2 separate regions of the Homo sapiens genome follow, and region 2 is linked to region 1. Evidence: promoter capture Hi-C in human tissues and cell types (Jung and others, 2019). All regions are on one chromosome and are shown on one strand. The core of a region is centred on a gene start or on the middle of the fragment in contact, and the rest is flanking DNA. Distances in the headings are between cores, read along the strand shown. Region 1 holds the start of ATOH8 (atonal bHLH transcription factor 8). Region 2 overlaps LOC105374843 (a long non-coding RNA gene).

The links. The method cuts DNA at HindIII sites, captures the fragments that hold promoters and counts their contacts. A contact is called where the count stands out against the background at its distance.
Region 2: a fragment that was not itself captured here is called in contact with the fragment with the promoter of ATOH8 in region 1 in 1 of the 25 tissues and cell types used here (liver).

Annotation. Positions count from the first base shown.
Region 1 is chr2:85,750,424-85,756,333 of GRCh38, reverse strand. It overlaps ATOH8 (atonal bHLH transcription factor 8), which reads right to left and starts at 2,343. Exons shown (of 3, transcript NM_032827.7): 1 at 1,377-2,343. The coding sequence starts at 2,144. RefSeq lists a silencer at 5,454-5,674. The HindIII fragment of the contact is 12,393 bases long and covers 590-5,910 here.
Region 2 is chr2:85,987,789-85,993,698 of GRCh38, reverse strand. The region is part of intron 2 of LOC105374843 (a long non-coding RNA gene); the gene reads left to right. Among named protein-coding and RNA genes, the nearest start is that of ST3GAL5-AS1, 100 kb to the right of the region's middle. The HindIII fragment of the contact is 4,251 bases long and covers 686-4,936 here.

The DNA of each region.
Region 1 (5,910 bases), core at 1,094-3,593:
CCTCTACCCAGCGATGCAGACACAGAGCTGCTGGCTCAGGGTGGGACTGACTGCTCCACTGGACCCACCGCCCAGGGTTCCAGCTGGTGTGGATGAGGGCAGAGGCCCAGCCTGGTCTGTGACAGCCACCCGTCCCCCACCCCCACCCCCACCCCACCTCACTGACCACTTTCCCCAAGCCCAAGCAAGACACTTTGGCTCAAAAGTCATAGGGCCTCTTTCCTCCAAGGATTCAATTTCCTTTCCATGGATGGACACAGGCACTACTGCCCCACCCCACCCCAACCCCCAGCAGGAAGAGGAGAGTGATCCAAAAAGAAGATCATGGTTTCTGAAATGTTTTGTTGCTGGATAAAGCCCAGAGAAGTTGAGCAACATTCCTGGAGTCACACAGCAAGTCAGCTGCAGAGTATGCAAATAAAAAGAAAAAAAAAACACCCTTCAAACCAGCCACATCTACCCTAACCCTTCCCCACGCCCTGTGTGGGGGTGGGAGAGAACTCACCACCTCCTTCCTAGAGCTCCTTCTCGCTAAGAAAATAAGAAGCCTAGAAGCCCAAGCGATTGTCCCGCCCCACCACGGGTAATTCTTGGGTTAAGTATTCTTCCGCTACCTGCGCAGGGGCACTGTCTGGTGAGGGCAGCCCGCACCAGCCCCAAACTAAAAAGTCCCGGACCCACCCCAGAACTAGGCTCTGAAGATGCTCCAGAGGGAATCCCCAACCTAGGCAGTCCCCTCGGCAGAGCTGCCTGCTTCACCACGGGTGAAAGGAAGGGATCTGCTAGAAAGACTCCCACCAGCCGATTCCTGAGCCCACCCCTGGGGAGAGGGCACAGGCTTGTAGCGCGGGTTCTTGAGGATGCCAGGGCAAGGAGTGCATAGCCCGGAAGCAACCTGAGTGTTCGGGGCATCACCGCTGGGGCCTGAAGAGGGGCTGACAACTCCCCCGGACTGTCCCACCGCAGCGTTCCGGACCTTGCCACCACCAACTGGAGAAGGCTCCCCCCTTCCTCCGCTGACAGATTCCCACATTTCCCCTCTCCACTCCGCACCGCGCCCAGGGGACTCCGGCAGGCAAATACTCGCTGCCATAAAAGTGAACTATGGAGGCTGAAGTCAGAAGCGCAGACAGCGTTACCCCCGAGGCGGGGGTTGAGGGCGGGGGGTGCTCGGGCCAGAGATAACCAACTCTTATAGCCACTTTGAAAACTATGATCCATACCCTAGGACTGCCCACACCTGTCTGGGCACCAGGGTCGGACCGGGCGGGGCAGCTTGCCCCTTAAACACACCTCTATCCCGCCCCGGCCACTCGCCCACCCATTCCCGCAGTCGTCCCCCGGCGCAGTGAGGGCGTGCGGCGGCGAGCGGGTACCTGCTTCCTGAGCGCCTCGAAGGCTGCGCTGATGGTGTGCACCCGCGTCCGCTCCCTGGCGTTCGCCAGGAGCCTCCGGGTCTGCTGCAGGGCTTTGATCTCGGAGGAGGCGGCAGTCGCTTCGCCCGGTCGTTTCCTAGGCGACGCGGAGGAATCCTGGTGGTTATTGTAAATTACGTGTGAAATTGACGAGTAGGAACTTTCCCCGGGGCGCGTCGGGGGCGCAGGGCGCACAGTGGACTCCGGGGGCGCTGGCGGTGCTGGGGGTGCTGACGGCGCGGGGCGCGCGGGCGGTGCGCACAGCAAGATGCGAGGACGCAGACCCGGCTCCCGGAAAGGCTGTGCCTCTGGGCCCCCAGGTGCCTGGCTCTGGGGCGCAGGAGGCGGCGGCGGCGGCGGCGTGGGGAGTCCTGGCCCCACTGCGCCTAGGGCGAAGCAGCGTTTCCGCGCGTCGGAGACCTCGGGCGCCCGAGAGCCCCCGCGCTCCCCGGCTGTGTCCGTGCCCCCTCTTGGGGGAACGGCCGGCGCCACTGGGACTGGCACCGGCACCGGTACCGGGACCGGCTGCAGCCGATGGGTCCTGTCCCGCAGCCCGTTGGTGGCTACGGCGCGGGGCTCGGGCGCTTCCAAGTCCAGTCGGAAAGTTTTATAGCCGTTCGCGCGCCGCGCCGGCTCCTTGCCTTTCCGCTTGAGCTTCTTAAGGCCGTTCAGCTCCTTCACGCACACGGTCTTCCACGGCCCGTCCTCGAGGACCGGGATGTGCTTCATGGCGCGGGCGGCGCGCGAGGCAGGGGCGTGGGGCTGCCCGGGCCGCCGCCGCGCTCAGCGCCGAGGAGTCTCTGGCTCTCCCGCTTCGCCCGCCCTCCCCCTCCCTCTCTCCCTTTCTCCCCCTCGCCCCGGGCAGCTGCGCCGCCGGCTTCGGGAAGCCGCCGGGCTGTCCGTTCCCGGAGCGCTCAGAGTGTCATCTGAAGTCGCTGCCTCCTTGCCAGCATTTCTGGAGAACGCCCGCTGCGCTCCATCTGTGTTTGTTTAGCCTCAGTTTACACAGAAGCCCAGTTCGCGAGATCAGTCAGCGCCGCCGCCCGGAGAGGAGGCAGCTCCCGCCGCCACCGCCTCCCCAGCCCGGGCCGCCCGAGCCGCGAGCGCCTTTAAAGAAACAGGAAGCATTTTTCAAAACAGCTGGGCCGCCGGCCGCCTCCTTTGTCCGCGGGCTCCCTACCTCCCCCCCACCCCCATCCCCTTGGCCCAGAACCTGCCTCCTCCGGCGCTCCCTCCCCGCCCCTACTCTAGTCGGGGGCGCTTCTATGTTCCCAGAGGACAGTCCGCTCCTGCACAACCGCCCCGAGCACGTGACTTATGGGCCCCCGGCCCTTCCCCAAATCACAGCGGGGCCTTTTCTCCCTGGCCTTGCCGGCCTCTCGGTGACGCAGCTCCGACCTTGCCCACCCGGCACCTTCCCGCCGCTCCCTCCGCCCCAACTCGCCACGAGACAGAAAACGCCGGGAGCTGGGACTTCTGCTGGGGGCCGATGGGGAAGGGGAGACTCCGGAGTTGCCCGGCGACCCACACCCGCCCGGCACGGCAACCCAGTCCACTCTCACTTGCTGGAGCGGGAAAGCAAGAGGAGCAGAGGGCTTAAGACAGGGAAACTGAGTTTCCGAAAGCTCCAAAGTCACGCAGCAAGTCACAGAGGCAGAGGAGGGTGGAAGCTTCGGATTTAGGCAGACCTAACGTCTGCGAGCCTCCGCAGTCACCTCACTCCAGGCGCCCTGCTAAACCGGGATTTACTCATCTGTGAAATGAGAAATTCGGAGAACAACGCCTAAGTCACAGCATTGCTCTGAGGAATTAAAGCACTAGGCACATAGGAACGGGTCGTCAAATGGTAGCTGTGGTTGTTGTTAGTATTATTTATTGAGGCAAAACAGCTACTTGAGGCAGATTTCCTGGGCTCAAACCCCAGCTCTGCCACTCACTGAATGACCTTGGGAAAGTCACTTAACCTCTCTGTGCCTCCCTTTCCTCACCTGTAAAACGAGGGTCATAATCGTACCTTCCTCCCCAGGCGGTGTGAAAAGCGTGTATGCGCAAGGCACTCAGAGCAGTGCCTGGCACCAGGTGAGAGCTTTGCAGGTGCCCACGGTTATTGGCAAGGGGCAGAGGTAGACCCCCCAGACCCTCAGTCATCAGTGCCATTCCACTGGAGATTCTGGAAAGAAGGGGTCAAACTAGTAGGCCCTCAGATGTCCTTGCCAGAGGACTGCTTCCCAGCCGCTCCCTTCCGAGGCTCAGAACAGGGCTTCACTCCTTGCTGGTCCCTTCTCTGTGACTGTTACTCCTTAAGGAAGGTGGACACTAAAAGCCAGCAAGGTGGTTTGGGAGAAGATGGACCCTTGACCCTGGCCTTGAACTCTGATGAAAACACAAGGGCTCACACAGAGTGGAGTGCTTCTCTCCTCCATGGGAGAATGCCTAGGGGTGGAGGAGGCAGATGGCACGCAGGGTGCTGGGAGGTGGGATGGGGATCTGGGCATAGCTTTGGGGGCAGGAGCATGGAGCTCCAGCCAGCAGCCCCGGTTGAGCCTTGGTTTGTCAACGACGGAACCCCATGACCACGAGCAAGACGTTTCCTCCCACCGTCACTCTTTTCTGTCTTTGAGGATATTTCCAGCCAACCTTCTCAGGGTAGCTGGGAAAGGACAAAGAGATGGATGTCAAAGGACTTTGACATAAGACTTCAAACATAGACACACACACACACACACACTGAGGCATGCAGTTTTCTGAATATAGTAAATGCAAAATCTCATTTTGCCACCAAGGTGGGTGCCAGCATCATAAAGCATGTGCTCCCGGAGACATCGTCTTCCCTGGACACCTGCATATTCCTGCACCTTATCTCTGTCCTGGAGACCAGGTGTGTGCTGCCAAAGAGGAGCCCTCATTCTCCTGTCGTTTCCCTGCTCAGCCTCGAACCCTAAAGTTCTGGCCTTTGCTCCCAGGTCTCCCACGGCTCCCCTTTGCAACGCACACTCTTCCTCACCCTTCGATGAACAGCTCCGGTCCCCCTCCTCCCGCGAACCTTCCCTGCTCACCATAGCCTCCAATTGCTCTTGCTGGCCTGTGTGCATGCTTGCTCAAAAGTCCTGCTGCAACTTAGCCTCCACTGCAGCCCTGTTGGAACTCCTGGGCTTGTGCGTTCCTCAAAGGCGCACTCTTGCCTTCCTCCCTGTCTCTAAAGGCTGGTGCTCAGGAAACCTCTGATAAGGACAAGCAACCCTCGTGCCCTTTACACTCCTGTCTGGAGACCCAGTCCTCCTGTGCATCCAGCCAGTCAGTGGCAGAGATGGAGGAAAAGTGACACTCCTTCTCCAGGGCTGCTCAGGTACTCTCTGAGCTTCAGTAGCTTCCTCTGTAAAACGGGAGTAATGATACCGTGCCTCACACGGCTGCAAGGACTCAAAGACGCAGCATGTGCAGCATGTGGCATGATGCCTAGAGTCTAGGGAATGGTGACCTTGGGCATCCTGGGTCAGCCAGCTGCTAAGGCCCCCTTGCATCCCAGACTTGGGTGTAGCTGAAGACTGGGGTGCCCGTGGCTGGTGAGGTTGTGTGAGAAGTCTCTAGCAGGACTGAATTTTGTCCTTAAAGAGGCCAAGCTGTGTCTGGGAAAATCACATCTTGGCTGAATACCAAAGGATCCACTCATACTGATCCTAAGCCCCGTGCCAACTTCCCCCCAAATAGAGGAGAAGGTCACCGAGATCCCATGGGGCAGGAGGAGGCGAAGGGATTGGATAGGAATGATCAGCCATGCAGGGTGGAGGTAGAGCAGGGCTCCAAGCCGGGCTACAGGCTTCCAGACAGGCTCTTTCTCCTCAACATGCTGCCTCTCCCGCTGGCCAAATGCCAGGGCCCCAGAGTTGGCAACAGGCAAGCCCAGAGGGATCTTCACCTTGTCACGTACCAGGTGTGTGACCTTGAGCAGCTCCCTGACTTCTCTGAGCCTCTGTTCACTATCTGGGCATCATCTCTTGAGTCTTGAGATGGAATGGTGTGTGTGGGAACAGGCGACAAATTGTAAAGAGGCCGATTGATGTGGAGTCCCTGCTATTGCCATTGTCAGCCTGCCAGGTTGCAGACCTTCCAGGTCCAGGCTGGCTGCCCACGCCCCACCAGCCTAGGGGTCAAACCTGTCTTCCAAGGGCTCTCACTTCTGCCTTCCTCAGCCTTGCTGAGAATTGGGGCAGAGACCAGCTGGGCAGCACCCCCTGGTGGTATCACACTATTGGGACTGCACACAACACTGCGGTCTCCCCATGAGGAACTTTTGCCCATTGTGGTGGCCCTGTAATGACAGTAATGTGGATTTCATGAATTCATAGACTTTCCAGGATAAAAAGTCTCCCAAGGCTCCATTTGGCCCTACTCACACCTTTGGATGGTACAATGCAGACGACACCCTATGCCCTTCATTAAAAACATCGCCCACTGAATTAACCATTTGAGGTGACCCTGGGATCGAGGGATGTTG
Region 2 (5,910 bases), core at 1,562-4,061, 240 kb before region 1:
ATTTTTTTTTATTTTTTTTGAGATGGAGTCTTGCTCTGTCACCCAGGCTAGAGTGCAGTGGCATGATCTCGGCTCACTGCAACCTGCGCCTCCTGGGTTCAAGTGATTCTCCTAGCTCAGCCTCACGAGTAGCTGGGACTACAGGCGCGTACCACCACGCCCGGCTAATTTTTTGTATTTTTAGTAGAGAGGGGGTTTCACCATGTTAGCCAGGATGGTCTCGATTGCCTGACCTTGTGATCCGCCTGCCTCAGCCTCCCAAAGTGCCCCTCAGCTTACTTTTAAAGACCTTGTTCCAATAACACATCAAACAGCCCACACTGAGTATATGTATGTATATACACATATATGCACACATATGTGTATTATTTATTTGTTTATTTTTAATTGACACATAATAATTGCACATATTTATGGAATACATAGTGATGATTTGATACATTTAATGTATAGTGATCAGATCAGGATCATGTGTATTTTTAATATTGCAAAATATTTTTAAATGGTTTTGATAATTTTTCTTTTTAAAATAATAGTACATGAGCAACTTGTTATTTCTTGGCAATCACCACACACTCCTCAAGAATTCTTGCAAAGGAGGAAATGCTACTTTCAATTTGTTTTGCAAATGTAATGAAATTTTTAAAAATACTGAATGTATCAATTAAGGAAGCTGACATAGTGTTCCACTTTGCAGGCATTTAATTAAACATTTATTCACTTTGATCATGCAGTTTTCTTTTTATATTTTGGAAGAAATTAGTTTTTTTTTTCTCATAACTCAGACTTTTCCTGTAAGGATAGTGGCCAATTGATCAACCAGGTCTGGCTGGGAAGTCAACTTTTTGGCCAAGTGGGTGGGCCTGGCCAGGACATTTGGGATGAATAGCAGAGCCACAGCTGGGGTATGCAGGAGAGGTTGTGGGCAGAGAGTAGATGGTCTCAGAAGAGTCAGCTGTTCCCTCAGGAATTAATGACTGTCAGGCTGTTTTCCAGTTTTTGGTGTTGGGGAGAAAATCTTTGGGTCAGTCTAGAATACCCTTGCAATCATGAACTTCATTTGAGCCTGACCCAAAAATGTGTCTGATGAGTCGTCTTTTTTTTTTTTTTTTGAGATGGAGTCTCACTTTTGTTGCCTAGGCTGGAGTGCAATGGCACGATCTCAGCTCACTGCAACCTGCGCCTCCCAGGTTCAAGCAATTCTCCTACCTCACCCTCCCAAGTAGCTGGGATTACAGGTGCCTGACACCATACGCAGCTAATTTTTGTATTTTTAGTAGAGACGGGGTTTCGCCATGTTGGCCAGGTTGGTCTCGAACTCCTGACCTCAGGTGATCCACCTGCCTCAGACTCCCAAAGTGCTGGGATTACAGGCATGAGCCACTGCGCCTGGCCTGATGAGTCATCTTAAAAAGTCCTCTCATCAGACAGATTTTTATGAACTGACGAGAAAAGATGTCCCAGGTAGAGTCAAGTGAAAGAGGCACAGTGAGTAACAGACAGCACAGTGTGGGTATGCGCACACTTGGCCACACACTTGCACAGAAACACAGACGAAATCTGGAAGAATGTACTAAGAACTGGAAACACCGAGTGTATCTGGAAAGCAAAATGATGTGTGAATTTTTGACTTCTAAAATAAGAATGCTGGCCGGGCATGGTGGCTCACACCTGTAATCCCAGCACTTTGGGAGGCCGAGGCAGGTGGATCATTTGAGGTCAGGAGTTTGAGACCAGCCTGGCCAACATGGTGAAACCCTGTCTCTACTAAAAATACAAAAAAGTTAGCCAGGTGTGGTGGTGCGCACCTGTAATTCCAGCTACTCGGGAGGCTGAAGCAGGAGAATTGCTTGAACCTGGGAGGCAGAGGTTGCAGTGAGCTGAGATCTTGCCACCGCACTCCAGCCTGAATGGCAGAGTAAGACTCTGTCTAAAAAAAATTAAAAACTAAAAAATAAAATGAAATAAGAATGTACATCCATCTCTTGATTTATGTGGTCAGTCCTAAAATGTGTCCATTCACTCAAAATGCTTACTGCAAAACTTCAGAATGAAGATTCTCATACAAAATACGGAAAACGTGAGTGGTATGTTCCAGTTGATGGAAAACAACATATTCAGACTGTCCTTTTTGTCATCTATTAAATGTAGCCAGTAAACAACCCATAAAAATATATATTAATGATTATCAGGAAACAAAAAGTCCCCAGGCAAAGACTAATGAAGTGGCAGGTGGTGTGGCCAGCCTATGACCACGAACTATGTGTTCCTCTATTTTCTCCATTTTAGAAAATCTTGTTTCCAAAATGTTTGTCATGGGTGACGTTTCAGTCTTTGTCCTTTTAAAAATGTTGTGGCTCTGTTGTTTGATAAAGTGACATTTGATTGAAAGATGAAGACGGAGGCCATTTCTCTAAGGGCTGGCAACTTTTGATGATAAATATTTGGCCATGTATTCACCCAGGGCCTCCCAAGGGTATGACTTGCTAGTTGCTAGTCACATAGCCCTACAAGGTAAACCCTGAGAAATGCATGTCACAGAGTGTCATCTCAGACCACCTGGAGGATGCAGTCCCCAGGCTAAGGAAGCCCAAGGCTGGCTGAGAGTTCACTTCACATCACGTGGTACATTTGCTTGTCTCCAGGTCACATGCCTGAACTTCCTGGTCAGAAAAAGGCCCCAAAAAAGTGGGCAGGCAGGTTATTCCAAAACAAGCTTCTATATCTTTTATTTTATTATTTATTTATTTATTTTCAGAAAAAGCCTCGCTCTGTCGCCCAGGCTGGAGTGCAGTGGCGCGATCTCAGCTCACTGCAACCTTCACCTCCCAGGTTCAAGAGATTCTCCTGCCTTAGCCTCCCGAGTAGCTGGGATTACAGGCATGCGCCACCACGCCCAGCTAATTTTTGTATTTGTAGTAGACACAAACACCATGTTGGCCAGGCTGGCCTAGAACCCCTGACCTCAAGTGATCCACTCACCTCGGCCTCACAAAGTACTGGGATTATAGGTGTGAGCCACCGCCTACATATTTTAAAGGAATTAATTTCTTTAATCATTTTTTCTAAAATGTGTATACATTAATCTTGAGTGAACTGGTTAATCAGTAACAGTCCTACTTAACAAAATTTTAAAAGGAGAAGCTCAGGCTCCTGGGTGTCCATGTTTTCATTAGTTGATTTGTTCATTTAGTCACCCAGCTTTGGCTCATTACTGACTGTGATGCTCTAGACCCCATCCTGGAAGGGTGCAGAAGGCATGATGGCACGTAAGCCAAGGCCCAAACCACCAGCACACGCCTCATCCTCTCATCGACTCACAAAACACAAACTCAAAGAGAAAATCATTAAAAATTTCAAGATAAGCCAGGCACAGTGGCTCACGCCTGTAATCCCAGCACTGTGGGGGGCCAAGGCGGGTAGATAACCTGAGGTCAGGAATTTGAGACCAGCCTAGCCAACATGGTGAAACACTGTCTCTACTAAAAATACAAAAATAGCCGGGCATGGTGGCAGGTGCTTGTAATCTGAGCTACTTGGGAGTCTGAGACAGGAGAATTGCTTGTACCTGGGAGGCGGAGGTTGCAGTGAGCCGAGACTTTGCCATTCCCCTCTAGCCTGGGCAACAAGAGCGAAACTCCATCTCAGGGTAAAAAACATTCAAGATAATCAACTCAGAGCATTAAACCCCAAACGTGAGGCCTTTTAAGTGAGGGCCTCACACTGGTCTCAAACATGACCAGCCCTGCTTTATGTTATAATTATCCTTGCACATTGTGTAAGTCAAACCTCCTCAATATAATCAGTGTTTCCCTGAAGGCAGCTCATTCCAGGGCTGGCCCACGAGATGCCGTTTGGTGATATGTGAACAGGCATTTTAAACATTTTAATAGTTTAGTATTGATTTTGATGTGCATTAGAAAAATATGTGATTATCACATTCCATCTATTAAGATAATTGCACAGGGGTACATAGACTCCCTTAGGAGCAAACTTACTGCAGGTAAAAAAATTAGTTACTCTAAAGAAAAATATTAAGTATTTGCTGGGCACAGTGGCTCATGCCTGTCATCTCAGCACTTTGGGAGGCTGAGTCAGGAGGATTGTTTGAAGCCAGGAGTTTGAGGCCAGCCTGCGCAACAAAGCAAGTTCTTGTCTCTAAAAAATGTTTAATAATTAGCCAGACCTGGTGGCACATGCCTGTAGTCCCAGCTACTCTGGAGGCTGAGGTGGGAGGATCGCCTGAGCCCTGGAGGTTGAGGCTGCAGTGAGCTATGATGGCACTATTGCACGCTAGCCTGGGCGACAGAGTGAGACCCCTTCTAAAAAATAAAAGTATTAAGTAAATGATAGTACCTGTAGCGAAATATGGGAAGATGGTACTCAGAGTTTGAGAAATACTACCCAAGACTGTGAGTTCTTTAAGGTGTGGAAGGCATGGGGGCAGCTTAACACTATGCTTGGTGGGTCAATCAGCAGGGGTAGACCTCTTGCTCACCCCTGATCCAGCATCCCAGCGCAGAAATGGTGATATCCCTGGGGGTCTACCGTCCCCCATGGGTTGGGGCAGCAGGCCCATGGAATAGGGAGATGCCCGGCCCAGCACACTGACTCAGCAGCTATAACTCAACATGCTGACCCAGCAGCTATAGTGGGAGGGGATCAGGGCAGCCAGTGGTCTATGGGCTCCGGGGTAGAGGGTGGGGGCCCAGGTGCCTGTGAGGGTCTGCACTGATATTGGTATCCTCGTGCCTGATGGAGCACGGACGTCAATAGAGAACAAAAAACAGGATGACATGCCGAAAGAGAGAGACCGTGGAGGAAAGGAGAAAGCTTTACATTTTAGCACTTTCAGCAACACCTTTTTCTCCCTTTTTAAACAGGGTGCCCACGGTTTCATTCTGCACTGAGCCCCACAAGTTATGTAGCATGTCCTGACCCAAAGCAGCATGTGTCAGGTCTCACTGGGCACATGTCAGGTACAGTTTCCAGGAAGCACTAGAGGATGTGTCTCCTGGTGGTTTCAGGATCCAGAGAAGCTTTGTGGTAGATGCGGCGTCTGTGTTGGGCTTTGGAGCCAGAGGCGATTAAGACCTGCAGGGCTGGGAGAAGACACACCTTGTGGAAATGCCTGGGGTGGGACACTGAGGCTCTGCCTGGAGGATTGCCAAGGTGTGGTCTGGCTGGAGCACAGGTGGGAGATGGGTCAGGAGGTGGGGATGGGAGAGAGGCCCAGGAAAAATAATCCAAGGCTGGGACGGGGCAGGATTTGGCTTCTCATGGTGTTCATACAAGTAACATGTAACAGATTCCTTTCTAAACTTTTAGAGGCCAGGGACTGAATTTTCGCAAGACATAATTTATGAGAAGAGAGTGAGACAAGCAGAGCAGGGTGTGGGGAGAGTTAAGAGCAAGCAAGGCCAGATGCGTTATCCAGGCCAAGAAAGGAGGATCGATTGCAGTTGTCTCCAAAGTTTTTTGGTTATGCACTCATAAAATATTTTTGAGCACACTCCCTAATATGTGTATCTGCTTCTGCATCAATTGTATACTTGCACAACATTATTATTTCTGATGGATGTTATAAAACAAAAGCAAAAACAGAACTTTTAAAAAGGTCATTAAAAATGAGCATAAAAGGCCTGTCAACCATCCTCCCTCTGCCCGGCAGTGGACCGTCAGCTCCTGCCTGTTGGGGATCTCCAGGCTGGCGTTGTGTCTGGAGGCAATTTGCCTGTTTTTATGTCCCCTGTGGCAGCTCGAGACTCTCTTCCCAGATCTTCTCAAGTAGATTGAGGCTGGGTCTCTGGGAAATTTATGTTTTATATGTGTGTGCAGAGCCAGGCAGATGCAAGACAGGGGTGGGGGAGGCAGATGCTGAGTTAGCTGAGTGTCAGGGAAGATCTCAGA